Regions from separate parts of the Homo sapiens genome. Here region 2 is linked to region 1. The links are contacts of gene promoters, found by promoter capture Hi-C in human tissues and cell types (Jung and others, 2019). All regions are on one chromosome and are shown on one strand. Each heading gives the region's core, a stretch centred on a gene start or on the middle of the fragment in contact. The rest is flanking DNA. Distances are from core to core; before and after follow the strand shown.

Evidence for each region. Contacts are between HindIII fragments. The study calls those that stand out against the background at their distance.
Region 2: a contact is called between a fragment that was not itself captured here and the fragment with the promoter of GBE1 in region 1, in 1 of the 25 tissues and cell types used here (dorsolateral prefrontal cortex).

Annotation. Positions count from the first base shown.
Region 1 is chr3:81,757,237-81,764,490 of GRCh38, forward strand. It overlaps GBE1 (1,4-alpha-glucan branching enzyme 1), which reads right to left and starts at 4,409. Exons shown (of 16, transcript NM_000158.4): 1 at 4,139-4,409. The coding sequence starts at 4,281. RefSeq lists silencers at 1,082-1,376, 3,958-4,037, 4,538-4,637 and enhancers at 3,688-3,857, 4,198-4,487, 4,274-4,882. The HindIII fragment of the contact is 8,733 bases long and covers 1-7,254 here.
Region 2 is chr3:83,438,328-83,445,581 of GRCh38, forward strand. All of the region lies in intron 2 of LOC105377183 (a long non-coding RNA gene), which reads left to right. Among named protein-coding and RNA genes, the nearest start is that of LINC00971, 1.4 Mb to the right of the region's middle. The HindIII fragment of the contact is 4,615 bases long and covers 1,829-6,443 here.

The sequences.
Region 1 (7,254 bases), core at 3,159-5,658:
TTAGATGGTACCGAGAGGGAGGCTGAAAAGGTCAACAGGGACCAGATAATGCAGAATCTTCTAAGTTATGGGAAGGAGGCTGTACAGAACTCAAGAGAAATGAGGAATGGTTGAAAGGGTTTAAGCAGAGGAGTACCATGATCAGATTTGTTTATTTCAAAATCCATTCTACTTACTCTGTTTGGAATGAAGAGGAGTGGAGAAGTTAGAATGGAGTGAAGATTTGAAAAAAGAACAACAGCTATGAGGTTGTTTCTGTAAACCATACTAGAGATGCTAGCAACCTGAACTAGGATGGCAGCAGTAGGAAGGCAGCATGCTACATACTTAAAAGTTAGGGGCTACAATTGACTAGACTCAAAGGTCTAGGAGGAGACGGGAGTAATTAGAAATCACTCGTTACCTTTTAGGTTTGAGCAGCTGGTAGAGGAAGATTCCAGACACTGCGATTGGGTTGACAGGGACAAACATGTTTGGAATGAAAATCTGTTAAGTTCAGTTTTATACATGTTGAGATTTGTATTTATAAAACATCAAAATGAAGATATAAATAAGTCCAAGATAAGGAGAAAGATCTAGAGTGGAGACAGATGTGGGCAGCCTCAGTAGATAGATGGAATCCATGGGATGGATGAGAATGTCTAGGGAGAAAATATACAATAGAAATACATAAATGATCCCAGGGAAGAACCTTGAAAATCTCTTACATTAAATGGTCAAAAAGAGGCTGAGAAAATGAAAGAAAAGCAAGATTATGGCTTCAAAGAGCCAAGAAATAGTCCAACATGTACAATGCTAGAGATAAAGAAAAGAGGGATCCCTAAATTATCATGAAGTTGTCTGTGAACTGGTTGAGAACAGTTTCAGTAAAGAAAGATTAATCACAGTTGCAGCACTTACTTATGCCATATATGCTCAAGCCCATCACTTAGTTTCTTCATCTGCAAAACAGGAAAAATGCCCACCGTCTGTCTACCTCATGGTTTTGTTATGAGGATTACATTAAATACCGGATCTGAAAGTACTTTATAAACATTAAACAGAGGGTATAAAGTAGTATTATTAAATTGTGTTGTTTTGACAATGTTCACAAATGCCAATTCTCTGTTTCACCCACATGGCAAGCTGATGGGCACTGGCCAATGTAACGTATCAGCAGAATGGACTCACTGCTAGGCAAAAGCTGTAAGAAATAGTGCATAGTTCAACATGCTTCTCTTTGCACTGTGACCACCTCTACAGAAGCATGTTTCAAAACAAATCCTTCATAAGCCTAGATTTTTGAGTGACTGCCATGAGGAGGGCCCTCTGGCTGACTCATGCTGACATGTAATATGGGAACAATTAAATGTTGTTTTAAAGCACTAAGATTTTGGAATTATAACAACTAATTGTAGTGTAACAACAAGTAAATAACTAAATAAAAGGTAGAAAAATCAAGTGGAAAATGCTATTTTGGGAGGTCATCAATGAGACAACATGGAGGTGGTCAGTCATGCTAATAATGTACTAATTTTTATTTTATAGCAGAGTAACTCATTAATCCTCTACACTTGATTCAAAATTCTCACAGGTACAGAAGGTGAAAAGAACAACTAATGAAGGTGATATGGTTTGGTTGTGTCCCCACTCAGATCTCATCTTGAATTCCCACGTGTTGTGGGAGGGACCTGATGGGAGGTAACTGAATCATGGGGGCAGGTCTTTCCCACGCTGTTCTCCTGATAGTAAGTAAGTCTCACGAGACCTGATGGTTTTAAAAAGGGGAGTTTCCCTGCACAAGCTCTCTTCTCTTGTCTGCCACCATGTGAGACATGACTTTCACCTTCTGCCATGATTGCGAGGCATCCTCAGCCACTTGGAACTGTAAGTCCAATAAACCTCTTCCTTTTGTAAATTGCCCAGTCTCAGGTATGTCTTTATCAGCAGCATGAAAACGGACTAATACAGAAGGGGAAAAGGCCAAGGTAAAGAAGGGAAGGAACATCCAAAACATCCTAAGGGAACATCCAAAAAATTTCAAATCAAAAGATATCTGTTGGGGAAGGATGAGACAGTCCATCAAAGAGAAATTTCCTTCTTCATCACCTTAATTATATACTGTTGTTTGTACCTCAAATTTTCTTCACTCCTTAGTAAGCATACTTTGCACCTAAGTGTTTGACTGGTTATGTATTTGTGTTAGGCCAAAGACACACAGTCCAAATGGATTATCAGAAATAAATGGAAAATTGGACAAGGAACTAAGACCAGATTGTATGAAGGAAAAATGTTTTATTCTTCAAGTGTTAACAATAGAAGTTACCACTAACAAATGCCAAATTACTATTTGATATGCCTAAATGGAACATGTATGCTAGCAAATGGCCATTACTCAGAACCAAGGACAAAAGTAAAATCCGGGTCAGAGTGAGGCATGAGGGCCCACTGGACGAGACTTTTCACCAAGCACACTGGATTCTCTTCCCTTCTTTATCTTGGCCTTTGTTCCCTTCATTAGTTTTGGCAAACCATGAAAGAAGATTATAAATGCTTCAATCCCAGTGGAGTTGGAAATAAAGTACATGAAAGAAACACTTAATAAAGAATGTTAATCTGTTTGTGTCATTTAAAAAAAAAAGGAAGGGGGTGTAGATAAAACATTTCCACAACTCTTCTTTAATAAATATCTTAAGTGTCCTTTTACAAAGCACACAGGTAAATTAATGTCATGGTTACAAGGACATCAAAAAAAAAATCTAACCACTACCTTTAATCACTATCTTTTGTTCTAAATTTTTTCTGACTATTTCTAAATCAAATCCAACCTTAAACCTATGACGATTATGCACTAAGTTTCTCTGAAAGCATATACTGTAAATTCTGAAAACAATTTCACAAGGCTGCTCCTCATATGGTTTATATAAGAGCATAATCATCTGATTAAGTGAGGGACAGCTCAAGGTGATTATTTTACAGAGGCCTCATTCACTACTATATACAAGCTCAAGAATGAAACTTCACATCCCTTACAATCCCTAGAGCAGTGTTTTATTTATAGGAGTTCCTCAATAAACACTTGCTGATTTGAATGCATTTAATACCTGAAAATGCTAGGACACAAACAATTTGCTGGGCTTTTTTCAAACTCCAAATCAACCCATTTTCATTACTCTCAACGCTCCTTCATGCCAGTTAACTAGTTGGATGTTTTCCATCACTCGAAAAATTGGCCATGTATATTCTGTTGCCAGGATAGTTTCCATTCTGCAGTGTCTCTCCTAAAAGGGGAGAAACTATTAAATCAAAATGGGGTAACCTCACAAGTATAACTATTACAACTTGTATAATAGCTCTTTTACTTCAAACAACAACGACAACAGAAAAAGACCTGTACCTTTTTAGTGGAACTTATGAATAGAATTATTAGCCCAGTAACTAAAGTTGTATGGTACACAATGGTAGAAGACAAGCTAAAACGACATTGGCCTGTAAAAGTTGCTTTCCTGACCTTTCTCCCTCTTCAAGATGGTTAAAGTCACACACGGACAAATGTTGATGTACATTTAACTTCTCAATGTTGATCCAAGGGGAGAAAAAATTGATCAATGTAGGTGTAATCTTCCCCTAAATGAGGAATATTAGCAAGGAAAAAACAAAAGGATATAGTGTCTGCCTGAAGGAATCCTCTTAGATATAAAATCACAACATTTGCTATGAAATAAACTAGAAAGTTTTAAATGCGTAATTACACGTGCCAGGAGTTATGCCCACGTTACTCCACAGGCCCACGCTAGTGGGTGCCAAAGTCAGAAAACCTGCAGCGGCGGTGAGTCACTCCCCAGCAGCACTCTGGGGAATAAGTGTTGGAGCCACAGCACGTACCCTATGGCGCAAGACCGCTGATTAGAACAGAGGGGAAAGGGGATGAGGAAAGAAGTTTCTTCAGCGCCCGCTCCGGGCACCAGCGCTGTCAAACCTGCCACTACGGAAGCCACAGAACCCGGTTACCCGAGTCACCCCGAGCCCCGCCCACTCAGGTTCCTCCCCGCCTGGGGCGGGGTTGGCGCGCGAGGGCCGAGGGGCGGCCCGTGTCCCGAGACGGCTCCTGGGAGGCGGGCTGCCTGTCTAAGTGGGGGTGGTGGGATTCCGGCGGTACCTGCGCTGGAAGTCCACGGCGTAGGGCTTCAAGTACGGGTCGATCTCCAGGAGTCTGGCCAGTTCGGGCACGTCAGCCAGGGCGGCATTGAGCGCCGCCTCGTAGTCCTCGGGCCGAGCCGCGGGAGTCATCGGAGCCGCCATATTCCGCCGCAGTCCAAGTAGCCGAGGCCCGAGAGGTCGAGTGGGGCCTGAGCGGGCGCTGGAGCTCTAGCTGGGACGCGGCGGCTAGGGCGGAGCCGGAGGGCGCCTAGGCGTGTCGAGGCAAGCCGAGGCGAGCCGCGGCGGTCCGGGGCCCTTTATAGCCGGGACGGAAGGCCTCCTGCCCTTTCTCCCCCCGCCAGCGGGGAGGAGCGGATCCCGGGGTGATGCCGGGACGCACGTCCGGAGCGGGTAGGAGGCACCGAGGCCTCTCCGCCCACTCACGCGGCTGGCACCTGGAGGCCGCAGGGACCTGCCCTTTCCTCCCCTTAACGGTTTTTTCCTGCTGGCGGAGGTCATTCTAGGAGGTGGGTCCCAAGCTGACCTCGCTCAGCCTTGGCCTTCCTCACCCTGACATATTCTTGGCTTTTCTTTACCCACTTAAGCACCCACTGACAGCGACCCCTTCAAATTGGACATAAGGGGTTTTTTTGGAAAGGACCGTATTTCTCAAAGTTCTGAGACTTTTGAGGGGCAGTATTTCAAACATATCATGTAAATTCACAGAGAGGGGAACAGTCAAGTGTAGCTAGAGTACTACTGCTGAAAATGTTAATACCTCTTACAACCAGGACTCTCCTAAGTTTGCCAGGTCACGTGAATTTAAAATTAACCAAGACACAGAATCCTGGAATACCGTTGGAATTCTGCTGTTCTGGTACTCTTTTCTGCATTACCAACAGCTAAGAATTTTAGCCATGGGAAGAACTTTTCTCATTCTCCGTAAGGCCAAAAAGGAAAAGGCATTTGCCTGTGTTTATAATTGTTAACAAGCTTTTCAACGATTAAACTACCTTTGATAACACAAATGATATCATTGAATTGGAACTCCACTCTGCCACTTACAGTGATAAGGCAAGAAACCTCTCTTCCTCTTGGCTTGGGAAGCTCCCACTTGGAATTCCCTTCTTTTATTGCCATTAACTGACTAGCTTCTATTTCAATAATTGCTTTTTAGGAATACAGAGTTGGACTCCAAGAGAGATGGACCCACCAAACCCAGGAGGGTCCAAGCTGCTTTACACCTAGAAACTAGAGAGGATTGAGGATATTTTTCTTGTTAAAACCCAGAACTGGAGGATCCTAGGGGTTATGGAGGAGAAACAGTATTAATCAGCCGTGGGCCTTGAATTTTAAAATATTTCAAAGGAAAGTTTTTATAAGGGGTTTCATAGACTTGAAAGATAAGTGGATATGAAGACAGACCTCAGTGTGAAAAAGTGAAGGACTTGAACGACTTTAAGACGTGCCTTGTTTTCCATAAAGATGACAAAAAACTGCTGCAGACATTTGTAAAATATAAAGCACTAAAAAAGGAAGAAAATTAAAAAAAAATAAAAACCCGAAGCAGGACAACTATTAATAACAGACCCACAGATCTACATCTCCAAGCCTAAACTTTTTTCAGAAACCCAGGCTTGTATCACTGCCTGTCTACTGAGATTTCCATTTAGCTGGCTAGGAGACCTAAACAAACTGTCTGCAAAACGTGACCTAGAATCCGTCTTCTCATCCTTCCTGCTGTCACTCTTATGCAGGCCACTGTTTTCCTTCACTTGGACCAGAATGTAGCTCTCTAACTGACTTCCCCTCTTCTACTCTTTCTCACCTCTACTCCATTCTCTGTACCAGTGTTTCTCACACTTTAATGTGCATATGAATCACCTAGGGATCTTAATTGAGTTCCGATGTGGTGCTTCAGATTGCATTTTTAACAAGCTCAGAAGTGATTCTGATGCTGGTGGTTGGGGACACAGTTTGGTGAGACTCTACACTGAGTAAATCAGACGATGTCATTTAGCAACTTAAATAGCATAGTATTTCACTTAGGGTAAAATAGAAACAGCTTATCATTCTCTAACAAGGCTTGTATAATCTGGACCCTGACTACCTTTCCAGCCACTTTTCTCATCATTTTCCAGTTTTACTATGCTCTAGTCACACTGACTTTCCTGGAACTCAGTGAATTTGTTGTATAATAGCCTCTAAGATTATTTGCTTGCTGTTCTCTCTGTTGGAAATTTTCAGGGAGCTGAGCTCTACTTGCTTAATTTTTTCCAAGCCTTCATTCCAGCCTCAGCAAAAATGTCACCTCATACCTGAGAAACTTCTGATTATAGACTCCTCAGTGTCTTCTGTATAACTTCAATCTCTTCTATGCAACAGTTAACAGAATCTAGGTGTTTGTTTTTCTCCTATTTATTGACCTTTCCCTTTAGAACCTAAGCTCCCCACGAGCACGATCCTAGCGTACATATCTGCCTACCTAGGTGGTTCACCATTGAGCACATATTTATTGAAGTCCCATGTGCCGGCCATTTTCCCACGTACTGTGGATAAATGATAAGACAAGTCCCAGTTGTCATACTCTATTGGGGGTAGGAGGGAGAGGAGACACAATTACCAGTGAAATACATAAAATAATACAAAACAATGTCAGATAGTGGTAAGTGCATTGTCGAGAATTAAAACTGAGCAAATATCTGTGTTAGTTCCGGTCGTCAAGAAAGGCCGTTCAGAACTGACATTTAAGCTGAAGTGTGATGACAAGAAGAAATGAGCCATGAGAGGAAGAGCATTCCAGAATGGCAGAGTTCGTGCAATGGAGGAATTGAATTGGTCTTTTAAAAAAAAAAAAAAATCTAGCATACCCGGTGTGTAATGAGGAGTGGCAGGAATTGTGGTGCAAGAGCTAGGCAGCTGTTCGTTCATATAGGCCCTTTAATGTCCATTTAAGGGATGCTATTGGAGAGTTTTCAGCAGAACACTGATATGATATGGTTTAATTATTAAAATATTCTATGTGGCAAATGAATTATAAGGATACAAGAATGGCAATAGGGGTGCCATTCTTGTGGGAGACAAGGGAGACAATTAGGAGGTGATTAACATTGCCTAGGCATGAAATGATGATGG
Region 2 (7,254 bases), core at 2,886-5,385, 1.7 Mb after region 1:
ACTAATTTTTTGGCAGAATTATCACTGACTCAACCAAGATGCTAATTCCAGGCCAGCACAGTCATGGGTTTCCTCATTGTTTCTTACAGACTGTGCTTTATTTTCTGACAATGTCACCAGGCATGGGTATTTACCTTCTGCTGAAAATCAAATCTGCCCTCTTAGCAGTGAAGCTGCTTTTTATCCTTTTCCAGCCCCACTGTAGTAATATTAACAAATCAAACTTGGCAGGGTAGAGGTTTCGGGTTAAGGGAAGGGTAAATGGAATGGCTTCAGGCAAGAAGCCTACAGATTCCCACTGTTTTCCCCATTATTCAACAGTTTTTCTTGAATAAACACTTACCAACTTGTAACTTTGTACATTTCCAGGGATGTAAAATTGTGGAGGTTTTCTTGGCAATATTTGCCAGTTTTTAACTTGTATTCTTGGATGGGGGGAGACAATTTGCCAATATCTACTGTCTATTATAGCTAGAAATTAAAAGTCTACTTGATGTGTTTGATGCTATTTTAAATATTATTTTAAATTTTCTTTTTTGTTGTTGTTACTTTTATTAATGCTATTTAGAAATGCCATTAATTTTTAATAATGTAATATCAAGTAAGGTTGTTTAATTTAGTTTTTCATGCTAATATTTCTTTTGTAGGCTTTTCTAGATTGTGTACTTGCACAGTCATATGACCATGAGTAATGGCAAGGTTATTTCACTTTATTCAATCTCATTCATTTCCTTTTCTTGCATTTTAGACCATTTAACTTATCAAGTATGACTTTGAATTGAATTAGTGATAACAAGTATCTTTGTCACATTTTTGTTCTTAGAGGGAAATAATTAATACGTTATATCAAATTAAGAATGCCTTATTAGGGGAGTGTGAGGAAGATGGTGGATAGGAGACAGGGCTAATATACAGCTTCCACTTGAACAGAAAGAACAATGTGTGGAGACTCACACCATGAACTTTTGCTTGAAGAACCACTGCAGGAATATACCAGAAAAAAAAAAAAAAAAGAATTCACAAATCCTTTGAAAAAAGTGGCATACTGCTGCAAGTTTCATGAGACAGGAGAAAAATGTGAGTTCTAAAAGTGTGAGGGGGGAATCTACCTTTGAACACACATCCTCACTGGGAATCTAAAAATCCACATCATTGGAGAAGGATTTAATCTGTAATAGAGCTCAAGTGAATATAAAGAGCTGCACAAAATACAAAAGTAGAAGCAGCAGTGGGAAGAGTATTATAGTCATTCCCAGTCTCCAGCTTGAGACCAGGAAAGCCATCTCTGACTATACCTCACATGGACCCTCAGGGAAGGCAGCCAGCAGAATTCAAAAAAGGGTTCCAGGATAAAAGAAGTTTCCAACTGAAATTTGTAACAATTTCTACTGGGCACAATTTTTCTTGAGAAGAATCTGGAGCGTGAATGGGAATTACTTCAGATATGAATACAGGAGCCTCTGCCATCAGATCTGCCCAGTGTGGGCAGATGGGGAGGGTCAAGGCCTGAAATCCATGCTTGCTTTCTTAGTGGTGAAGCTTAAGGCCTGGGGCAAGGTCTAAGCAGGGGACTGCAGGAGCAAGACCAGCCTCGCCAACTGCGTGGGAACTGGGTGAGGACCTTTGCTCCTGGCTATCCCCCAGTTCTCTGGAAAACTATATGACACAGCAGAGACAGCCATAATCCCATCTGGAACATACCCCACTGGCCTGAGAACCACCCCCATAAGAGTGGCTGCAACAAGCCCCACTCAAGAAGAGTCTGAACCCAGACCCACCCAACCCTGCTACCATCTGATAGCCCTGGTAGCCAAACACAAAAGACATAAACTCTTTGGAGCTTTATGGCCCTGCCCATCACCTGAGAAACTAGATTACTTACCCTAACCAACTTAGTGCAAGTTTACATCCCTCTAATACTACCACAGCTGGTGCTCTCTTGAAGGCACCACCTCCTGGCAGGAGACCAACCAACTCAGGCCATCACAGCAATGCATGACAGAATAACGCTGCTCCCAGGAAAGAGAAAACAACAGCTAGTTCCACTGCCTGCAAAATCCTGGCTAACCAGAGTTCCTGAGTTTGTCCATGTGACAACGTCACTGCTAGCATAACAAGCTTTTGAGAAAGCCAGCATGCTAAACATTTCTACAACCAAGAATTCTCACAGAGTCTACTTCACTCTCCTGACACTTCCACCAGAGCAGGTGCTGATAACCACAGCTGGGAGACCTGAAGATGGATCACATCACAGGACTCTGCAGACATTCCCCAGCACCAGCCCAGAGTCTGATAACCCTGCTGGGTGGTCAGACCCAGAAAAGCAATAACAATCACTGCAGTCTGTCTCTCAGGAAGCCCCATTCCTAGAGGAAGGGGTAGAGCAACATATCAAGGGATCCCCCCTTGGGACAAAAGAATCTGAAGAGCAGGCTTTGAGTTCCAGATCTTTCTGCTGAAATAGTCTACCCAAATGAGAAGAAAATAGAAAAGTAATTCTGGTAATGTGACAAAACAGGGTCCGATAACACCCCCAAAAGATCACACTAGCTCCCCAGCAATGGATCTAAGCCAAGAAGAAATATCTGAATTGCCAGATATATATAGAAAGTTGATTATTAAGCTACTCAAGCAGATACCAGAGAAAGGTTAAAAAAGCAACTTAAAGAAATTAAGAGAAATACAGGATATGGATGAAAAATCCTCCAGAGAAATAGATATCATAAAGAAAAAAAAAATCACAACTTCTGGAGATAAAAGACACACTTAGAGAAATGTAAAGTGGACTGGAAAGTTTCGACAATAAACTAGAACAACAAGAAGAAAGAGCTTCAGAACTCAAAGACAAAGCTTCTGAATTAACCCAATCAGATGAAGACAAAGAAAAAGGAATCCACCCCCCACCAGAAAAAAAAGAACAAAGTCCCCAAGAAATTTGGGATTATGTGAAATGGCCAACCCTAAGAATAATTGGTTTTCCTGAAGAAGAAGAGAAATCTAAGATTTCTGTAAGTTTGGAAAACTTACTTGAAGGAATAATAGACGAAAACTTTCCTGGTCTTGCTAGAGAGATAGCCATCTAAATATAAGAAACTCACGGAACACCTGGAGAATTTACCACAAAAAGATCATCACCTTAGCACATAGTCCTCAGGTTATCTAATGTCAAAATGAAGGAAAGAATTTTAAGAGCAGTGAGAAAAAAGCATCAGTTTACCTGATTAACAGCGGATTTATCAGCAGAAAACTTACAAGCCAGAAGGGATTGGGGTCCTATCTTTAGCCTCCTGAAACAAAATAATTGCCAATTAAGAATTTTTTTCCAGCAAAATTAAGCTTTATAAATGAAGGAGCAATAGTCTTTTTAAGACAAACGAATGCTGAGAAAATTTGCCACTATCAAGCCAGCGCTACAATAACTGCTAAAAGGAGTTCTAAATCTTAAAACAAAACCATAAAATACACCAAAATAGGACCTCTTTAACCATAAATCTCACATGTTCTATAAAACAATAACACAATGAAAAAAATTAAAAAAAAGATATTAAAGCAACAATTAACATGATTAATAGAACGGTGCCTCACATCTCAATACTAACATTAAATGTAAATGGCTTAAATGCTCCACTTAAAAAATACAGAATGGTAGAATGGATGAAAATCCACCAACCAAGTATCTGCTAACTTCCAGTGTCTCACCTAACCCATAAGGACTCACACAAATTTAAGGTAAAGGCATGGTAAAAGATATTCCACATAAATGGAAACCTAAAGTAAGCAGGAGTAACTATTCTTATATCAGTCGAAACAGACTTTAAGGCAACAACGGTAAAAAAGATGAAGAGAGACATTATATAGTGATAAAAGCATTAGTTCAACAGGAAAATATCACAATTCTAAACATGTGTGCATTCACAATTCTAAACGTATGCATGTAACACTGGAGTCCACAAATTTTAAAACAATCACTAGTAGAGTTAAGAAATCAGATAGCAAAACAATAGTAGTGTGGAACATCAATACTCCACTGACAGCACTAGACGTTTCATCAAGTCAAATTTAACAAAAAACAATGGACTTAAACTACACCCTTGAAAAAAATGGACTCAACAGATATTTCCAGAACATTCTACCCAACAACTGAAGACTACACATGCTTTTCATCAGCACATGGAACATTCTCCAAGATAGGCCAGATGATAGGTCACAAAACAAGCCTCAAAATTTAAGAAAACTGAAAATATGTCAAGTATCCTCTCAGACTACAGTGGAATAAAAGTGGAAATTTACTCCAAAGGAAATCCTGAAAACTATACAAATACATGAATATTAAACAATGTACTCTTGAATGATCTTTGGATCAACAATAAAATCAAGATGAAACTGTAAAAATTATTTAAACTGAATAAGAGTGACACAACTTATCACAACCTCTGGGATATAGAAAAAGCAGTGCTAGCCTACATCAAAGAAACTGAAAGAGCACAAATAGATAACCTAAAGTCACACCTCAAGGAACTAGAGAAACAAGAACAAACCAAACCCAAACCCAGCAGAAGAAAAGAAGTAACAAAAATCAGAGTAGAACTAAATGAAATTGAAACAAAATAATACAAAATATAAATGAAACAAAAAGCTAGTTCGTCAAAAAGATAAATAAAATTCATAAACAACAGCATATAAAAAAGATAATATGCCAGGATCAAGTGAGTTTCATATCAGGGATGCAGGGTTTGTTTAACATATGCAAGTCAATAAATGTAATACATTAGATAAACAATTAAAAACAAAAACCATATGATCATCTCAATAGATGCAGAAAAAGCATTTAGTGAAATCCAGCATCCCTTTATGATTAAAACATCCAGCAAAATTGGCATTGAAAGAACTTACCTCAAGGTTAATAAAAGCCATTCATGGCAAACCCATGGCCAACATTATGCTGAATGAAGATAAGTTGAAGGCATTACACCTGAAAAATGGAAGAAAACAAGGATGCCCTGTTTCACTACACCTATTCAACATAGACCTGGAAGGCCTAGCAAGAGCAGTCACATAAGGGAAATAAATAAAAGGCATCCAAATTGGCAAAGAGGAAGTTAAATTGTCACTGTTTACTAATGATAAGATCATACTGAGAAAAATCCTAAAGACTCCTCCCAAAGACTCCTAAATCTGATAAATAAATTCAGTAAAGTTGCAGGATACAAAATCAATGTACACAAATCAGTAGCACTGCTATACATCAACAACAATCAAGCTCAGAATCAAATCAAGAAGTCATTCCCTTTACAACAGCTGCAAAAAATAAAATAAAATACTTAGGAATATACCCAAGCAAGGAAGTAAGAGATCTCTACAAAGAAAACTACAAAACATTGCTGAAAAAAATAATCTATGACACAAACAAGTGGAAACACATCCCATGCCCATGGATGGGTAGAATCAATATTGTGAAAATGACCACACTGTCAAAAACAATCTAAAGATTCAATGCAATTCTCATAAAACTACCATCATCACTCTTCACAGACATAGAAAAAAACAGTCTTAAAATTCATATGGAACATAAAAAAAAAGAACCCTCATAGCCAAAGCCAGACTAAGCCAGAACAAATCTGGAGGGAGGAATTGCATTACCCAACTTCAAATATACTGCAAGGCTATAGTTACCAAAACAGCATGGTACTGGTATATAAATTGGCACATAGACCAATGGAACAGAATGGATAACCAAGAAATAAAGCCAAATTTAGCCAAAGGATCTTCAATGAAGGAAACAATACCATAAAGTGGGTGCTGGGGTAATTGGCAAGCCACATGTAGAAGAATGAAACTGGATCCTCATCTCTCACCTTACCAAAAATCTACTCAAGATGGATCAAACACTTAAATCTAAGATCTAAATCCATAAAAATTCTAGAAGATAACATCAGAAAAACCCTTCTAGACATTGGCTTAGGCAGAGACTTCATGACCAAGAACCCAAAAGCAAGTACCACAAAAACAAAAATAAATAGTGTACATCCTCATTGTCTTCATGTTAAGTAGGCTGAGCAGAAGAGGAACAGAAGGGGATTGGTCCTCCTATCTCAAGGGTGGCAGAGATGGAAGAAAACTTATGTATAATGGGACTTGTGCAGCTCAAGCTTGTGTTGTTCAAGGATCAACTAAATATTATTTTGGTAATTAAATTTATGTTGAGTTTTATAGAATGATTCTCTCATCAGATAGTCATATTTTTTCTTTGTATTAATGTGTATATTTATTTCGTTGTTTTTATTGAAATAAGATTGCATTACTCAGTTAAGTCGTACTTGTTTATGAAGTTTTGAATATCTTGTAATTTTATGTATTTGATTCTTTATTATTATTTTTTAAATTTCAGATTCTATATTTGTGAGAGAAATGGTCCTGTTATCATCTTTTTATTGTGTACCTTTATTAGAGTTTTGGCATCAAGATTCTATGGGTCTCATAAAATAGTTGAAAAATTGTAATACATGGAAGAGTTATTAAAAACTACTACAATTTTTTTTTCTCTTAAATGAATGGATGAATTCAACCAACAAAACCATGTGGGCCTAGAGATTTTTTTGTGGGAAGGTTTTCAACTGAAAGTTTATTTTGCTTATTGGGTATGGACTATAGTGGATTTGTGTTTATTCTTGTGTTCATTTGGTAAGTTCTGTTTTATTATGAATTTTTATCTTTTTCATCTAAGTGTATTTAATAAGCTTTTTCATAGTATCTTCATTATCTGTTTAACATTTGACACATAGTTGATACTTCAGTGTCTACTAAGGAAGTTATTGATATACACTAATCTGAATATAACATTTCAGATTAATAACAAGTTCTTAAAAAAATAAATGAAAGGCAAAAATATACTGAAAAGTCTTGCTATTCTGAGATATAATCATATATGTAACTAGATCTTCAATTTTTCAAATTTTCCTATAAAATTTTACATGTTTTAATTTCTTTTTTTTTTTTATTATACTTTAAGTTTTAGGGTACATGTGCACATTGTGCAGGTTAGTTACATATGTATACATGTGCCGTGCTGGTGCACTGCACCCACTAACTCGTCATCTAGCATTAGGTATATCTCCCAATGCTATCCCTCCCCCCTACCCCCACCCCGCCACAGTCCCCAGAGTGTGATATTCCCCTTCCTGTGTCCATGTGATCTCATTGTTCAATTCCCACCTATGAGTGAGAACATGCGGTGTTTGGTTTTTTGTTCTTGCG